Regions from separate parts of the Homo sapiens genome. Here region 2 is linked to region 1. Evidence: promoter capture Hi-C in 16 types of primary human blood cells and fetal thymus (Javierre and others, 2016). All regions are on one chromosome and are shown on one strand. Each heading gives the region's core, a stretch centred on a gene start or on the middle of the fragment in contact. The rest is flanking DNA. Distances are from core to core; before and after follow the strand shown.

The links. The method cuts DNA at HindIII sites, captures the fragments that hold promoters and counts their contacts. A CHiCAGO score of 5 or more calls a contact.
Region 2: a contact is called between a fragment that was not itself captured here and the fragment with the promoter of PPM1F-AS1 in region 1, in 12 of 17 cell types (megakaryocytes, neutrophils, endothelial precursors and 9 more). The highest score is 15.4, in megakaryocytes.

Annotation. Positions count from the first base shown.
Region 1 is chr22:21,936,852-21,939,911 of GRCh38, forward strand. It overlaps PPM1F-AS1 (PPM1F antisense RNA 1), which reads left to right and starts at 1,386. Exons shown (of 2, transcript NR_147620.1): 1 at 1,386-2,762. PPM1F (protein phosphatase, Mg2+/Mn2+ dependent 1F) reads right to left here. Exons shown (of 8, transcript NM_014634.4): 3 at 2,681-2,829. RefSeq lists enhancers at 1,003-1,809, 1,810-2,617, 2,618-3,060 and a silencer at 1,361-1,520. The HindIII fragment of the contact is 1,993 bases long and covers 121-2,113 here.
Region 2 is chr22:21,772,678-21,775,744 of GRCh38, forward strand. It overlaps MAPK1 (mitogen-activated protein kinase 1), which reads right to left. Exons shown (of 9, transcript NM_002745.5): 7 at 196-305. Among named protein-coding and RNA genes, the nearest start is that of YPEL1, 38 kb to the left of the region's middle. The HindIII fragment of the contact is 4,906 bases long and covers 1-3,067 here.

The DNA.
Region 1 (3,060 bases), core at 136-2,635:
ACTGGGAGAATAAATGTCTGTTGTTTTAAGCCACTACATTTGGGGCAATTTGTTATGTAGCAACAAATAATATAAGCCACAATACTCATTTGAAAAGAAAAAATACCCAAATCCTACCTAAGCTTGGCTTCTCAAGAAAAGATCAACCAGTAACAGGCCCAAAGGAAACCATGGGGGCTCTGGCTTCAGGGACTCATGTCACTTCAATGCACAAACTCTCCTGGAACTCCTGCCAGCCCAGGTGCATGTGGCAAGCATGGTGAATCAGGGCCAGTCAGCCGAGGGCAGGAGTTGAGTGTCACAGGCCACACCCAAAGGACATGGGGAACTGAGAGGAGGAAAGAGCTCCTGCCTAAAGGCGGAGGCTGTGGAAGAAAAGGAGAAGGGCTGAGGCCAGAGGGGGCCACCGAGGAAGAACCATGAACGCGAGGGCTTATGCACGCAGGAGGTCACAGAAAGACAGGTTCTTGGGAATCCATGCATCAAGGCAGGGGTGGGGGCATCCAGAGCCAGCTGCTGCCGCCATGGCCAACACAGGGGCCTATTCAAGCATTTGGCAAGAACTGGGGACTGGCAAGGCTATGGGTGAAGGAGGGGCCTGAGAACTCATTCAGGCAGGCCCAGCTCAGGGAAGGCAGCTCCACACAAGTTTGGCCAGTGGATCCCCTGCAAACCAGCAGGAAACCCCCCTCGTCCTGCCAGTCCTTGTAGCGCTGCCTCCTCTTCCTCTCGTCTGAGGGCCACTGTGCCCAGAAAACTGCCCCTAAATGCCATGGACTCCTCCTCACTCCCTCTGGAAACTGTGGGCTCCTGGTGCTTACCAGGCCTGAGCTCGGGCTGGGGGAGACTCCGGCCGCCGCTGTGGCTCACGGTCTCGCCCCGGGTGCTACTGCTATTTCCAACAGCCGCTTAGCCTAGACTCTGCTCAGGAAAGGCCAGCGGCTGAGGCAGTGCTGCCCAGCCCACGGACTCCCCATGCCAAGGGCTGCAGCCCCGCAACCTCGCTTCTGGATTCTTCGCTGATCCAGTCACCGGGGAGGGGCTGACTGGCAGCCACACAGAGGTTTCAGCCACTCGCTGCTCTTCAGTGGCAATTCTTATAATACAATCCCCACTCTGACGCAATTTTGTAAGAATGGCTTGGAGTCCAAAAACTTGACTACATTCTACTTCCGTGACAGGGAGAGCATGATCAAGGCCGCTAGGCAGGCCTGCATGCGAGGCACTCTGACAGACGGGGAAGCAAGGGCAGGCGAGACTTCCTTCTAGCTGCGCCCTCCCTCCTTCCCAGGCCTGCAGGAGCCCCGAGCGTAGGACTGGGCTGGTGCCGGCGCAGCAACGCTCCTTCTCACCGGCAGGTGGCGCTGTCTCCCGCGTGGACGGACAGAGACCCATCAGGCGGGGAGGGCCTGGGCGGTGGCGGCGCCCCCTTGGTGGGGCCGCAGAGCGGAGGAGCAGCAGCTGCCACCGGCCGGAAGCCTGCTGGCTCGGCCGAGAACAATGGCCGCCTGTCACTGTGGACAGCTGTCTCCCAGGCTAAGGCAAGGCTGCGCTCCCAGGGAATGCGGGCAGGGAGCCAGGGCGGAGGGCAGAGGACGAGAGCGAGGAGGAGAGCGCGGGCACCCACTGATGCTGGCGGCCTCGGGTATTCGCTTTCTCTCTCTTCTCCCACCTTGTTCCTTTTCCCCGGATGCACGCATGCACTAGTAATGCCGAATTTAGAACAACAGGGAAAGGAAAGGAAATGGCAAAGGAAGGGAAAGGAAATGGCCGACAGGAAATGGCAAGGAAGGGAAAATCCACTGCAACTCTGCTGCCTGCTGGCCTGTCCAGGGACAACTATTCAGCTGGGTGGGACGTTGCTACCCCCTTGTGGCACCCCTGCTGCAGCCTGCGATTCTTACGCCCTGTATTTCTGGTCTAACATCAACCAACACTTTGGCGAAATATAATAAAATGAAATTACTAGGAGAATGAAAGAAAGTCACATGAAATAAAAGCCCTGCTTTTTAATGATTATATCCTCTGTGAAATGGATCTGCAGCCCTCTCCATTTCTGGGTTCCCCTGGCCACACCATGCTTATGGCTGTCCCAGGAGCAGGCTGACAGACAAGCTTCCACCAGCATCTAACCATGGGGCTCATGGACACCGTAGAGCGTCTCCACCCAACAGAATCCTGACTTGGGGGCAGCTGAGGCAGGGGGCCCGAGCGTTGAGGGGACCACGCTGCTGCCCCGAGACCTGCTGGCATGCCACCTGGCCAACCCTGACTTCGCCTGCCCGGGCGCATGTTAACTGAGTTACAACACTGAGGGCACTTGAACCTGGCTGCATGACCAGAGATCGATCACCTGTGAGATCCTCTGTGAAACGGGATAAGCATCTTTAATTTCCTGGGCTGTTCTGGAACTTCAGTCAGACAGGACACAGGAGGGTGTCTGCACCACCCACCCCTGCCTCGTGGGCTGACTGGGAACTATATGACCTGTGGAGGGCTGTGACCGCCACCCTCCACCTCACTGGGGCCGCAAGCCTTCTCTGCTCCTTGATTCTGCTGCCGTTGTGAGCGAGGGCCCCAGCACCCTTAGGGACCCCAATCAATGGGCTTCCCACAATGTCGTCACCCTTTGTTGCCTGCTAAGCAGCCCTGGGGCCACCTCAGAAGAAACAGAACTCACAGGTCACAGGGGCCTTTTCCTCCTCGTCATCGTCCTCCTCCTCTTCTTCTTCCTCCCTGGGCAACTTCCTGAATTCGGAAAGGTCTGTCTGTAGCAGCTGTGAAACTGCTTCGTGGGCCAGAGCAGCAGCAAGTGGTGGCGGGGCCTTCCTAGGGATGAGGAGGGGGAAGTGAGGGGCAGCCCCCAGCAGGAGACCACACCTAGCCCCCCTTCCCCAACTGTCAGCCCACATGCTGAGGGGTCACGGCCAGCAGGGCGGCCCCTGTCCTCAGGGAGCTGGGACAGGAAGGTCACAGGACAGCAAAGGCAGACGCACAACCATCTGGTGGGGAGCTGGACCATACTTGAGCCTGCGGCTAGTTGGGAGGGGGCTGTTGATG
Region 2 (3,067 bases), core at 510-3,009, 160 kb before region 1:
TGAGATAGACAGAGTTACGGGGGGAGGGATTTCAAGCTGTGCCCCACAGCACTCGTCCTCAAGGCAAAGGTGGGCTTGTTGGAAGAACCGGGTATGGCAGCAGGTATATCTCAGGAAAATCTAAGCAAGATATGGTTGGTCCACTGCTGGCTGATCTATGTCCCTGAAGCAGCAGCCAGGAACATGAGCTCTTACCTCGTCACTCGGGTCGTAATACTGCTCCAGATATGGGTGGGCCAGAGCCTGTTCTACTTCAATCCTCTTGTGTGGGTTGAATGTCAACATTTTGTCCAATAAGTCCAGAGCTATAAAGAGAAAGGTTTTGCAGTAGTGAGAGCAGAAGTAGTCACAGAAATACTTCAATTTCCTGTTTAAGTAACTTACCCACAAAACAACTGAGCTAAGCATGACTACAGAGAGAGCAGCCAGCACAAAGGGTGCTGACTATATCTCCAAGCCTCCCGAGACTGTGAACATAGGGACCGACCATCTGACAATTGCAGACCGCAAACAAAAACACTGGCACTACTTAATGAAGCGTCTTTTCTGACAATGATCATTTCTTTTTTTTTTTTTTTTTTTTTTTTTTGAGACGGAGTCTCGCTCTGTCGCCCAGGCTGGAGTGCAGTGGTGCAATCTCGGCTCACTGCAAGCTCCGCCTCCCGGGTTCATGCCATTCTCCTGCCTCAGCCTCCTGAGTAGCTGGGACTACAGGCGCCCGCCACCACACCCGGCTAATTTTTTGTATTTTTAGTAGAGATGGGGTTTCACCGTGTTAGCCAGGATGGTCTCGATTTCCTGACCTCGTGATCCGCCTGCCTCAGCCTCCCAAAGTGCTGGGATTACAGGCGTGAGCCATCGCGCCCGGCCAGCAATGATCATTTCTTATTAGGTTATTTGTAGGTAAAGGTCAACTTCATCCATCTGCAAATTAGCACATACTATTAAGCCCTCAAAGTAGAATGATAAAATATCATTATTTCTTCTTAAAACATTTTAAAATTTAATTGTATGTCCCTTCTCACCATTCCTAAAATGATAAACAATCACGTAAAATTTGGTACAATTTAATACTCATGATCAGTTTAAGGAATCACTTCTAGCCACTACTTTCAAAAAGTAAGTTTTCACTATTTACTAAGAAAATGTTTCCTAACCCTTAAGAACAATCAGTAGACCTTCCGAAGGGATTGCTTGGGTGCTGGGGGGAGGTGGGAGGCATCTTGCTGCCTGAGGTCACTGAAGGGCTGTGGGTGTGTATTTGTGCTCAGCCCCGGCCAATTTTGACCTCCCTTGTTGCAACCCCTGACCTTAAGACAACAGGAGATGATAAACATGGTAAACCACATGCTGGACATAATGAGAAATTCCGCATAGAAAACATTTAAAAGTTATGTATGTTTCTATCTATAATCTTTTCAATACATACAAGTGCACTTTAGGAAATTACGGAATAATGATATTTTGTTTTATAGCCTAGATAACTTTTCAGAGTAGAGAATCCAGACAGGTTTTGCTGTGACTGAAGGAGTGTCTGCGCAGTAGAAGAGGTGGTCATGCCTGCAGCTGTGACCCTGGGTCTGTGGGCACACAAACTGGCTAGGTTTAGGAAGTGGCCCTCTCAAGGGTCAGGACAAAGACGCATGATGGTCAAGAACCCAGGAATCTCTGGTTCAAATCCTACTTCCAAGGAACACTTGTAGATATGTGTGCAAGACACACAACCCTTGCCGAATCTTAAGATTCCTGTGGTTGGCTGGGCACGGGGGCTCACGCCTGTAATCCCAGCACTTTGGGAGGCCAAGGCGGGCGGATCACAAGGTCAGGAGATCGAGACCATCCTGGCTAAAACGGTGAAACCCCGTCTCTACTAAAAATGCAAAAAAAATTAGCCGGGCATGGTGGTGGGCGCCTGTAGTCCCAGCTACTTCGGAGGCTGAGGCAGGAGAATGGCGTGAACCCGAGAGGCGGAGCTTGCAGTGAGCCGAGATTGCGCCACTGCACTCCAGCCTGGGCGACAGAGCGAGACTCCGTCTCAAAAAAAAAAAAAAAAAAAAAAAAAGATTCCTGTGGTCTATAATATAGGTAATAAATCCCACTTTGCTTCCTGCTCCCAACCAGCCCTCCCCACATAGAACTCACAGACATTTTCTCAAGGACTTTCTTGAAACTAGATTAAGTCATTTGGCTTTTCACCCAATTAGATACTGTCTGTGCTAAGAAAAGTCCAGAAGGCCTGGACCACAATAAGATTCTAACAGTATTACTTCTAAACCACTGGGGGCAGAAGGGTCCTACTCAAACTTGTTCGTATTAAGTAGACAGGCACTCCAAGCCAACTGGATGTTTTGCAGCTTAAGCATTTCTAAAACAGATCCATTAGTTCCTTAAAGTTAAATAAATTCTAGGCCCTTAAACCTCCAGGCATAAATTTCAAAGAAGACAGCTTTTTAAAAAAAGATTTGCTACTTGAAAAGTAGCTAGATCTCCAGCCTTCTGTTACTGCAAGTGCTATTTCTACATTATTCATAGCTACAGAAGGAGAAAAGGAGAGAACCGGGAAGCAGCTGGCAGGTGCGGATCCCACAGTCAAGAATGTCCGGACTCCCTCCTCCCACGCCACATGGGCATTCATTGGTAACACTCAGATGGTGTGAATCATGGCTGCCTGTGTGGATGCTTACTTGGATACAGGTTTTATTTCCCCTAAAAGACTGGAAGTCCCTTTGAGGCTAGTATTACTCCTGACCACAAATCCTGACTTTCCCTAGTGCCTTCCAGAATACTACATTTTCTCTTTCTGTGTTTTTTAAAACAGAGTTTGGATTTTGTTCTATGGCCCAGGCTGGAGTGCAGTGGCATGATCATAGCTTACTGCAGCCTTGAACTCCTGGGCTCAAGCAATCCTCCTGCCTCAGCCTCTCGAGTAGCTGGTACTACAGGCACATGTTACCACACCCAGCTAATTTTTTTAAATTAATTTTTCTGTAGAGATGGGGAGTCACTATGTTGCCCAGGCTGGTCTTGAACTCCTGGGCTCAAGTGATCCTCCTGCCTAAGCCTCCCA